Regions from separate parts of the Homo sapiens genome. Here region 1 is linked to region 2. The links are contacts of gene promoters, found by promoter capture Hi-C in blood cells and fetal thymus (Javierre and others, 2016). All regions are on one chromosome and are shown on one strand. Each heading gives the region's core, a stretch centred on a gene start or on the middle of the fragment in contact. The rest is flanking DNA. Distances are from core to core; before and after follow the strand shown.

Region 1 (4,802 bases), core at 2,176-4,675, 110 kb before region 2:
CCCCATCTCTATGTTTTTAAAGAAATTAAAAAAAAAAAAGTAACATTGATACAATTCTTTTATCTACACTGCATATTTCTATTTCATCAGTTGTTGCCATAATATTCCTTCTAGCATTTGTTTGCCAGTACTGGATTATACAGTTCAAGATTGCATAATGCATTCAGTTGTCACATCTCTTCAGGCATTTTTCGTCTGGAATTGTTCCTCAGCCTTTCTTTCCCTTTCATCACTTAATATTAAGAATATAGGCCAGTTATTTCATAGAATTACTGCCAGCTGGGGTTTGTGTGATGTTTCCTTATGCCATGATTCAGATGATATATTTTTGGTTGGAATACTACATGCATAAGCGATGTTGCCAAATACCCATCTTTTTAAGTATAGTGTTTCCTTTAGTCTTAGAAAATCACAGTTAACATGTGTCTTTGAGTCATTTAACAGGTTTTTTAATAAGTTCATCATTTTCTTTAAAAATAGTTTATTTTTAAAAATAGTTTGATTCTATTGCTCACTGTTGAACAGTTTCCAACCTTCTTACGATGTTTTAGATTTTGAAACATCATGTCTTCCTTACAAATGGACATTCTAATTGTGGATCTGAAAAATGCAGAGACTCTTAAGAGCTAAAGGAATGTACATTATCAAAGTAAATAGTTGCTTTCTCCCCTAATATATTAACTACATTAATTATAGATTAGTTGAAGTCTAAGAGGCACTTGTCTCAAAAAATGAATAAAAACTAAATTGCTGAGATATTATTTAATAATTCACTTTATTTAAAGTAATATCGTGAGATATTATTTTGTTTTTACTCTTCATAATAGCTGAAAAAATGACAGTGACCAGTGTTTTCAAAATGTTCTTATTGAGCATTCTCATATATTGTTGGTTGGCATATTTGTTGAAAATAATTTGGCTGTATGTTGTGAATTATTTAAAATTGTGTAAACTCTTTTACTCAGTAAATTCCACTTCTAGGAATCTGCCCTAAGGAAGAAATCCAAAATCCAGACAGATTTTTGCACAATTATACTCATGTTTCAAGTTTAAAAAAAATGTGTGTATGTGTATAAACTTTACAAAGCTTTGTGTTGACAGCTGACTTTGTAGATTACAGCAAGAAAGCTGCTCTGCTATGTATGACACTCTGACCCAGAAGCAGGTCATCTGAATAGTTTAGCACCAGGTTCTCCACAACCATCTGTTGTGTGACATAGACGTTTTTGTGATAGTAAAGAATTGGAAACAACAAATTCCAGGTTAGAATTAGAAGAATGGTTAAATAATAGAATATCTATTTAATTGTATATAATGGTGTACTTAAAAATGAAGCTAAGAGTTGATAATGATATGAGTAAAGTGTTTGTGGTGCGAGAAAGAAATATGCAAAAATAATAGTGAGTGCTTCTGGGTAGTAGGATTTGGGGGGGGATCTTTCTTCCCTTTTCCCCAAGCCCCCTGCTTCAGTAAAGATCTGTTACTTTTATAGTCAGGAAAAAGTGATATTAAAAAAATTACAGTACCCAATGAAAATTACAGTTGTGACCATTAACTTAAACAAATCACATGTATATTTTAGCTCCTGAAGCTGAAGGAGAAGTGCCAGAGCTTTATCATCAAAGAAAGGGGGAAATAGCAAGGTGCTGGATCAAATACTGTTTGACTCTCATGCAGAATGCCCAACTCTCCATGCAGGTAATGCAGTCAGAAGCTGCCTTTTTCTTTCTTAAATGAGGAAATTGTAAGTAAAAACTCATAGTGGGGATTGTGCTCATTGGGGTCACATTGTGTTTAATATGAAAGGTGTGTAGAATGTTTTCGTAAATATTTCTTTCTTGGTTTTAAATCGTATTCTTCGAATTGCTTGAATCCGGGAGGCAGAGGCTGCGTGAGCCGAGATTGGACCACTGCACTCCAGCCTGGGCAACAGAGCGAGACTCCATCTCTAAATAAATAAATAAATAAAATAAATCTTACTCATCATTCAAGGCCTATCTTAAATACTACCTCTTCCTTGAAGACTTTTCTTTGGTTAGAATATAAGCTTCTTGAGAGCTGGGAACGATATCATATTCTTTTTTTTTTTTTTTTTAGACAGGCTCTCGCTCTGTTTCCCAGGCTGGAGTGTGGTGGCGTGATCATGGGTCACTGCAACCTTGGTCTCCCCGGCTCATGCAGTCCTCCCACCTCATCCTTGGAGTACAGGCGTGTGCCACCATATCCAGTTAATTTTTAAATTATTTTGTAGAGACTGGCTCTCACTGTGTTGCCAAGGCTGGTCTTGAACTCCTGGGCTCAAGTGATCTTCCTGCCTTGGCCTCCCAAAGTGCTGGGATTACAGGTGTGAGCCACTGTGCCTAATCTTTTTTTTTTTTTTTTTTTTTTTTTTTTTGAGACGGAGTTTTGCTCTGTCGCCCGTGCTGGAGTGCAGTGGTGTGATCGCAGCTGCAACCTCTGCTTCCTGGGTTCAAAGGATTCTCCTGCCTCAGCCTCCTGAGTAGCTGGGATTACAGGTGCCTGCCACCATGCCTGGCTAATTTTTGTCTTTTTAGTGTAGATGGGGTTTCACCATTTTGGCCAAGCTGGTCTCGAACTCCTGACCTCAAGTGATCCATCCATCTCGGCCTCCCAAAGTGCTGGGATTACAGGTGTGAGCAACCACACCTGGCCAAGCCCTTACTAATCTTTATATACTTCCCAGTGTTATCTTACACACAGCATGGACTTGATAAAATCTAAAAGGGTAGACTTTTAAGAAATAGCTCATGTAATAGTTCAAAAATAGAAGCAGAACTGATGGCAGTGAAGAGCATGGACTTGAAATACACTAGGTAGGTATGAACTCCAGCTCTGCCGCTTCGTAGCTATGTCTTTGTGGCAATTTACTTAATATATTTTTGCCTCTATTTCCTCACAAGTAAGTTGGAGATAATAGTACTTAATACTGTTGTTATGGGAGTTAAGTCAGTATATATTAAGGCCTCGGAAAAGTGCCTGAGACATACTAAGTCCTTAATAAATGTTAACTACCATCATCATTATTAATTTATGCCCAATCCTAGTTTCTAAGCACTAGGGAGGATAATAAAATTAATCATTTAGATGCAATATACTAAGTGTAGATACATAGGAAGATTTCCTGGGGGATTCATTGTGCTTTTATTTTTTTATATTGTGTATTAAAGTATGATAATTTTTTTTTTTTACATGGGACTCTGCTTGATAAAAGTATAATAATCTTTAGTGGTTGTATTAGTCTGTTCTCACACTGCTATAAAGAACTACTTGAGGCCAGGTACAGCGCCTCATGCCTATAATCCCAGCACTTTGGGAGGCCAAGGTGGGTGGATCACTTGAGCCCATGAGTTTGAGACCAGCCTAGACAACATGTTGAAACCCTGTCTCTACCAAAAATACAAAAAATTAGCCAGGCATGGTGGTGTGCACCTATAGTCCCAGCTACTGGGGAGGCTGAGGCAGGAGAATCACTTGAGCCCAGGAGGCAGAAGTTGCAGTGAGCCAAGACTGCACCACTGCACTCCAGCCTGGGTAACAAAACAAAAGAACTACCTGAGACTGGGTAATTTATGAAGAAAAGAGGTTAATTGACTCACAGTTCCTCAGGCTTAACAGGAAGCATGACTAGGAGCCCTCAGGAAACTTAGAATCATGGCGGAAGGCGAAAGAGAAGCAAGCATGTCTTACCATGGCAAGCAGGAGAGAGAGAGAGGGCAAAGGGGGAAATGCCACACACTTCAAAACCATCAGATCTCATGAGAGAGCTCACTCATTACCACAAGAACAGCAAGGAGGAAATCTGCCCCCAGTGATCCAGTCACCTCCCACCAGGTCCCTCCTCCAATTTAATGTGAGATTTGGCCAGGGACACAAATCCAAACCATATCAGTGGTAAATAATATAGAACCTTGTGAAACTACTAAACGAAAGAAAACCAAACAAACAAACCTCAACACATCAGAAGCATAGGTCTTGAAAAGATGAAGATAATTTTAGAGGTCAGAGGGTAAAGAGGAGGCATATTAAGGAAAGACAGGAAGTAGGGAGAATAACTGTGGGGCTTTATGTGTAGAGAATTTGGAGCCAGGAAGAGCTGTCAAGTTTATTCTGGTCAGGTAAAGAAAGCTGGAAAAGGAGGGTTGCAGGGACTATTGGAGCAAAACAGTAGGCTAATTTAAATAAGCATCCTAGAGAGAACATGTAAGTAAACAAGCAGCCCAAGAAGGAAGGAAGTATACAAGATTTAGAGACTTATGATCTACATTTGAAGTAATTGTGTCAAGCAAATCGCACTATGATTTGACCCTTACCTTTCATTTAGTTGATGTTTCTAGTCTGGGAACTTAAAACTTCATCACTTGGTTAGTTTAAACTCACATATTTGCCATGCTACTAAACTACTCAGATTTTCCTTAAACCCAGTTTTGTTTTTTGAGATGGGGTTTCTGTCACCCGGGCTGGAGTGCAGTGGCATGATCTCCACTCACTGCATCCTCCACCTCCCTGGCTCAAGCAGTCCTCCTACATCAGCCTGCCAAGTAACTGGGACAACAGGTGTGTGCCACTGTGCCCGGCTAATTCTTTGTATTTTTGTTAGAGACGATGTTTTACCATGTTGCCCAGGCTGGTCTTGAACTCTTGAGCTCAAGCGATCCACCCACGTCGGCCTCCCAAAGTGCTGGGATTACAGGTGTGAGCCACTGCGCTCACCCCTGACTTTATTTTTTAACCTTAACTTCATCCTTTATCATCTGTATATTTATCTGAAAGACCTTCTTCAG
Region 2 (4,797 bases), core at 1,476-3,975:
CAAACTCTGCCTCCCTGGCTCAAGCTATCCTCCCACCTCAGCCTCCTGAGCAGCTGGTCCAATAGGCACATGCCACCACTCCCAGCTAATTTTTGTTCTTTTGCAAGAGACAAGGTCTCACCATGTTGCTCAGGCTGGTCTCAAACTCCTGGGCTGAAGTGATCCACCTACCTCAGCCTCCCAAAGTGTTGGGATTACAGGTGTGAGCCATTGCGCCCGGCCTAAATTGTATTTTCTTTCTTTATCCTTTTTGTGTATTTGTATTTTATTCTCTTCCCTTAACTTTGCCAGTGAACTCTGCAAACAGCTGCTCCCTGACACTCTCACAGTTATTAATGTGAATTTTTAGTCTTTGTGAATTTGAACAAATGACTATTTTTCTCTTAACTGGTTTCTGATTGATAAAAGCTCAGATTATCTTATCATCTAATACTTTCTGACCTAAACTCGGTACTTTTGTTGATGAAAGTCAATCCCTGTAAGTTAGTCACATTTTCCTCACACACCCCACCTTTTTTTTTTTTTTTTTTTTGGCAGAGGGCAAATATAGAGATGCCACAGTTCTCAGCTGGTGAAACACTGTACTGCTCACAATCTAGCTCTAACATTCTGGCTTGCTGAATAGATTGATAGGTAGGCAGACAGACAAATAACTAGCTCAACAATTCTGTTGCTTCTTGTATTTATTATGATAGCACAATTATTGATTGGGTTTTGATCAGTAGAATAAATAATTAGTACAAATTGGTTTCTAGTGTGACTTTCTTTGCCACCTCTTATTTATACCTGGCTTCGCTAGTATTTCTTTGCCTGTGTGGCATTTTCATCTATTCTCTTTGTTATGTTGATATTTAAGTCCCAGAAAAGAGTGGGTAGGAACCAGAGTAGCTCTCAAGGTGACAGGCAAATCTTCTAAGTGAAAAAAACCATTTTTCACTTTTATTAATTAAAGATTTGCATTGTTTTTGCTGCTTTCTTTTCACAGTTCAAACAGACAACAATATCAGTGTTACTATAGTTATTTATTTTTTTTGAGATGGAGTCTCGCTCTGTCACCAGGCTGGAGTGCAGTGGCGCAATCTTGGCTCACTGCAATCTCTGCCTCCTAGGTTTAAGTGATCCTCCTGCCTCAGCCTACCGAGTAGCTAGGATTACAGACGTGCACCACCATGCCCCGCTGATTTTTGTATTTTTAGTAGAGACGGGGTTTCGCCATGTTGGCCAGGCTGGTCTCAAACTTCTGACCTCAAGTGATCCGTCCGCCTCGGCCTCTCAAAGTGCTGGAATTATAGACTGTGAGCCACCATGCCTGGCCCAAATATGTGCATTTAAAGCTACAAATTTTCCTTTTACACAGTGTCACTGCATTCCACAAATTTGATATGTTGTATTATTATCTTTTATTTCAAATTATTTTATTTTTATTATTTTTTATTTTTGAGACAGAGTCTTGCTCTGTCGCCCAGGCTGGAGTGCAGTGGCTCCATCTCGGGCACTGCAACCTCCGCTTCCCGGATTCAAGAGATACTCGTGTCTGACCTCAGGTGATCCACCTGCCTTGGCCTCCCAAAGTGTTGGGATTACAAGTGTGAGCCTCCGTGCCCGGCCTCAACTTATTTTTAAATTTCCATTGATCTCTTCTTTGACCTAGAGATTTGGAATTATGTTGCTTAATTTCCAATATTTCCGGAATTTTCTGGCTTGTTTGGGTTGATTTCTAATTTTAATTCTATTGCGGTTAGAGATGATACTCTGATTTCAATCCTCTTAAATTTGAGGCTCACACTGAGGATTAAGTATAAAAAAATTTTTTTTGATACCTGTTTCATGGACTCGCCTCACAAACTTCTGTTTTAAGGTGGGGTAATTATAGTGCGTTCAGGGATGGATTTTTCTTCTGCTTTGGTTATGCATAGAGTGCACTGTGGCCCTTCAACACTATACTCTGAAATCCCACACAGTATTTTCCTCATCTGGAGGTCCTATAGGCTTACACTAGGGAGGAGGATCCAGTTCAGGCCAGCGTAGTCTTCAGCTGCGCCGTGGGACTTTCGGGGGAGCGCCTTTGCCCTCTCAGAACGGCTGGGCGGAACGGTGGGTTTGTGAGCCCTCCAGGCTCAGGGTGGGTCGCTCAGGGGCCATCTGGGGACTTTGGGAAGCAATGAAAGTTGTACCCTAGGATTTTTTTCTACTGGTCTTCTCTTCAGAGGCGAGAAAGCCAAGTTAAGAAAACCCAGACTCAGAAGGAGGTGGAGCGGGACTGCGTTCAGGCAAGGTGGCAGAACGCCTCGCCGTGGACGAAGAGAGCACATCTCTTCTTGCGAGGCCTAAGGAAGTAGGGCTCCCACTCGCCTCGGCAACCCAAGGACCCAGCCAAGGAGAGAGCCTCCAGATGAATCCTTCCTCTCCTCCTTCCTTCCCAGCCGCTCAAACTTTCACAAAGAGGAACTGGGTGCGGTAAAGAGGCCGGACACGGAACCGCTCGTCCGGTGACCGAAGAGACGGCGAGGAGGAGCCCGCGAACCCGCCTCTGTTCAGGCCCCGCCCACTCGACGTAATTTGCCCGCCCCTCTCCACCCTCCGAAGGGTGGAGCCTGAGGCCCCGCCTCCAAGCGGCCTCTCCCCGGAGTGCCTGGCGGCCAGCAGGGCGGGGCAGGAGGCTGGGAGAGGGACGGGTGCGGGGGTGGGGGAGAGGAAGGGAGCGGTCACGTGTGAGGGGCGGCCCGAGGTCACGTGACGGAGCGCCGGAGCGGAGGGAGCCGGGGCTGGGAGTTCTCCTGAGGGAAGAGGAGTGGAGTAGGGGGGACGCGGCGGCGGCGTTGACAATGGTGAGTGCGCGGCGGCCAGCGCGCTCGCCTCCCGCCCTCGTCCCGGAGCGCGCGGCGGGCCGGCCAACCGCGGGCCGGGCGTCGCCGGAGGAGGGGACGGGGGAGCAGGGCGGGGAGCGGGGTTAGGCCTGTCGGGCCACCCCTGGGTCTGGGAAAAGCTGGCGGCGCCACCTCTTCCCGGTCTCGGCGAGGCCCGAGCACCTACGGGCGGCGGCGTGCTCTCCTGGCCATGTCGGAGCCTCTGCCCGCGTTCTTCGACTGCTTGTTGGGGCTCTGGCTGGGGACTCGGACCCCGCCTCTGCGGGGGCTGGTCGCCGCCTCCCCTTCCTAGGTAGCCAGTCCCTGTTCTCCTCCCGGGCAGCCTCTCTTCCATCCAGGTGGGGCGACCCGGGAGCCCCCCACCTCCGGACTCTTCGGGGGACTTGGGCACTCAGTGTGTCACGAACTTGATAAACTCTGATATTTTAAAACCTGACTATGGTGACATTCTTTGATTTCATGACCCCAGTTCAGGCTTTCTGTTGACACTTGTAAAATGGGAGAGAAAAATAAAAGGACGTTGGAATGGGGGATATCTTTAACTCCAGAGACACCCGTTTGGTGCCCGCCGTTTTAAGCATTGGCTCTCATTTCCGTCCGCAAGCTATTTCGCTGAACTTAACGCTCTGGGTTGTTGAAACGGCCTATGAGGCAGAGGAGGGAGGGGAATCAGTGCTCTCACCACAGTCCGCGGAAGCACTAGCCTGGGCATTGTGGTATTTAGCTGGGTGTCGGCAGTCTCTAGGTTAGATCTCATTTTACCCATTTTCTGGTAGTAGTCGTCAGTTCTCTTCATTTAGCGCCTACTGTATGCTCTCCTAATACTACCTGCTCTTCCCAAAGCTCACTGATTCAATAGACTGCTTGAGACTTTTGGCTTAAAAGGCCGAGCCAGGTATATTTTTAAAAAGCTACTTTGAATAAATAACTTTTAATTTCAGTAATGATGTTGCTTTCAAAACAAAACAAAACAAAATCCAGACATTCATGTTCATTCTTAGAGCTTTTTTTCTTTCATTCAACAAATAATTGCTCAGGTGTGCCTAGGGGACCCCAGTAAAATGGAAACAGCGCCTACCTGCTCTCGTAGCTTACAATGTAGGGAGAGATAAACATTTATTTGTGTAAATTATTTGTTTAACGTGGAAATTAGAATTGTGACAGATACTAAGAAGGAAGTATTGGGGGACCTTGCCTAGTCAGTGTTAGGGCAGGCTTCTTTAATTGAATATCATTTGAAAAGAAAACTTAAAAGGTCCTCCTATTTTTTGCTTACATTTGTAATTATTACTTTTAATACGCTTTTTTGAATTATGTTCAAGAGCAGTTTATATTTTCAAGTTACCCAAACAGAAACTAAATTGTAAAACTTTAAAACACTGAAATGGTCACAGATGTAATATATGTATGAAAATTTGCTGTTTCATTGCTTGTGTATGGGCTAAGTGAATGAATTTTGAGAGTCAGCCTTCCACCTCAGAAATGCAATGAGTTGCATTTCTTTACATCCACTGGACTTAGTGAAATTCCTTCAGTGGGGACTAAAAAGTTGCCTTTTTATGTATCTACCATGTATTTTTGCTAATTGGTAATGCTCAATATTGGGTTCAGAAATTATATGAAAAATCCTAAATTAACCTAAAGTCAGTGATAGGAGGTTTAGGCCAAGATTAGAAAACTATAAAAACAATTGCTAGCATGTTTTTATAGTCATATATATTGCAGTCCAGTTATTTAAAAGCTCAAGAGTTTTAACTTGCATATTAATAGTTAATCCTGAAAATCGCAATATTCCAAATGCGCCCTTGAAGATATCTTTACCAAAAGAAGTGAGTAGTATTTTTGCACTTAAAAGATCTCACGGGGTGCGGTGGCTCACACCTGTAATCCCAACAATTTGGGAGGCCGAGGTGGGCGGATCACCTTGAAG

Evidence for each region. Contacts are between HindIII fragments. The CHiCAGO score rates a contact against its expected background, and 5 or more counts as called.
Region 1: a fragment that was not itself captured here is called in contact with the fragment with the promoter of VPS26A in region 2 in 6 of 17 cell types (monocytes, activated CD4 T cells, total CD8 T cells and 3 more); the score reaches 12.5 in monocytes.

What each region holds. Positions count from the first base shown.
Region 1 is chr10:69,009,318-69,014,119 of GRCh38, forward strand. It overlaps KIFBP (kinesin family binding protein), which reads left to right. Exons shown (of 7, transcript NM_015634.4): 6 at 1,583-1,698. Among named protein-coding and RNA genes, the nearest start is that of KIFBP, 23 kb to the left of the region's middle. The HindIII fragment of the contact is 2,761 bases long and covers 2,046-4,802 here.
Region 2 is chr10:69,121,453-69,126,249 of GRCh38, forward strand. It overlaps VPS26A (VPS26 retromer complex component A), which reads left to right and starts at 2,726. Exons shown (of 9, transcript NM_004896.5): 1 at 2,726-2,828. The coding sequence starts at 2,826. RefSeq lists enhancers at 1,960-2,319, 3,184-3,690 and a silencer at 2,580-2,979. The HindIII fragment of the contact is 9,705 bases long and covers 1-4,797 here.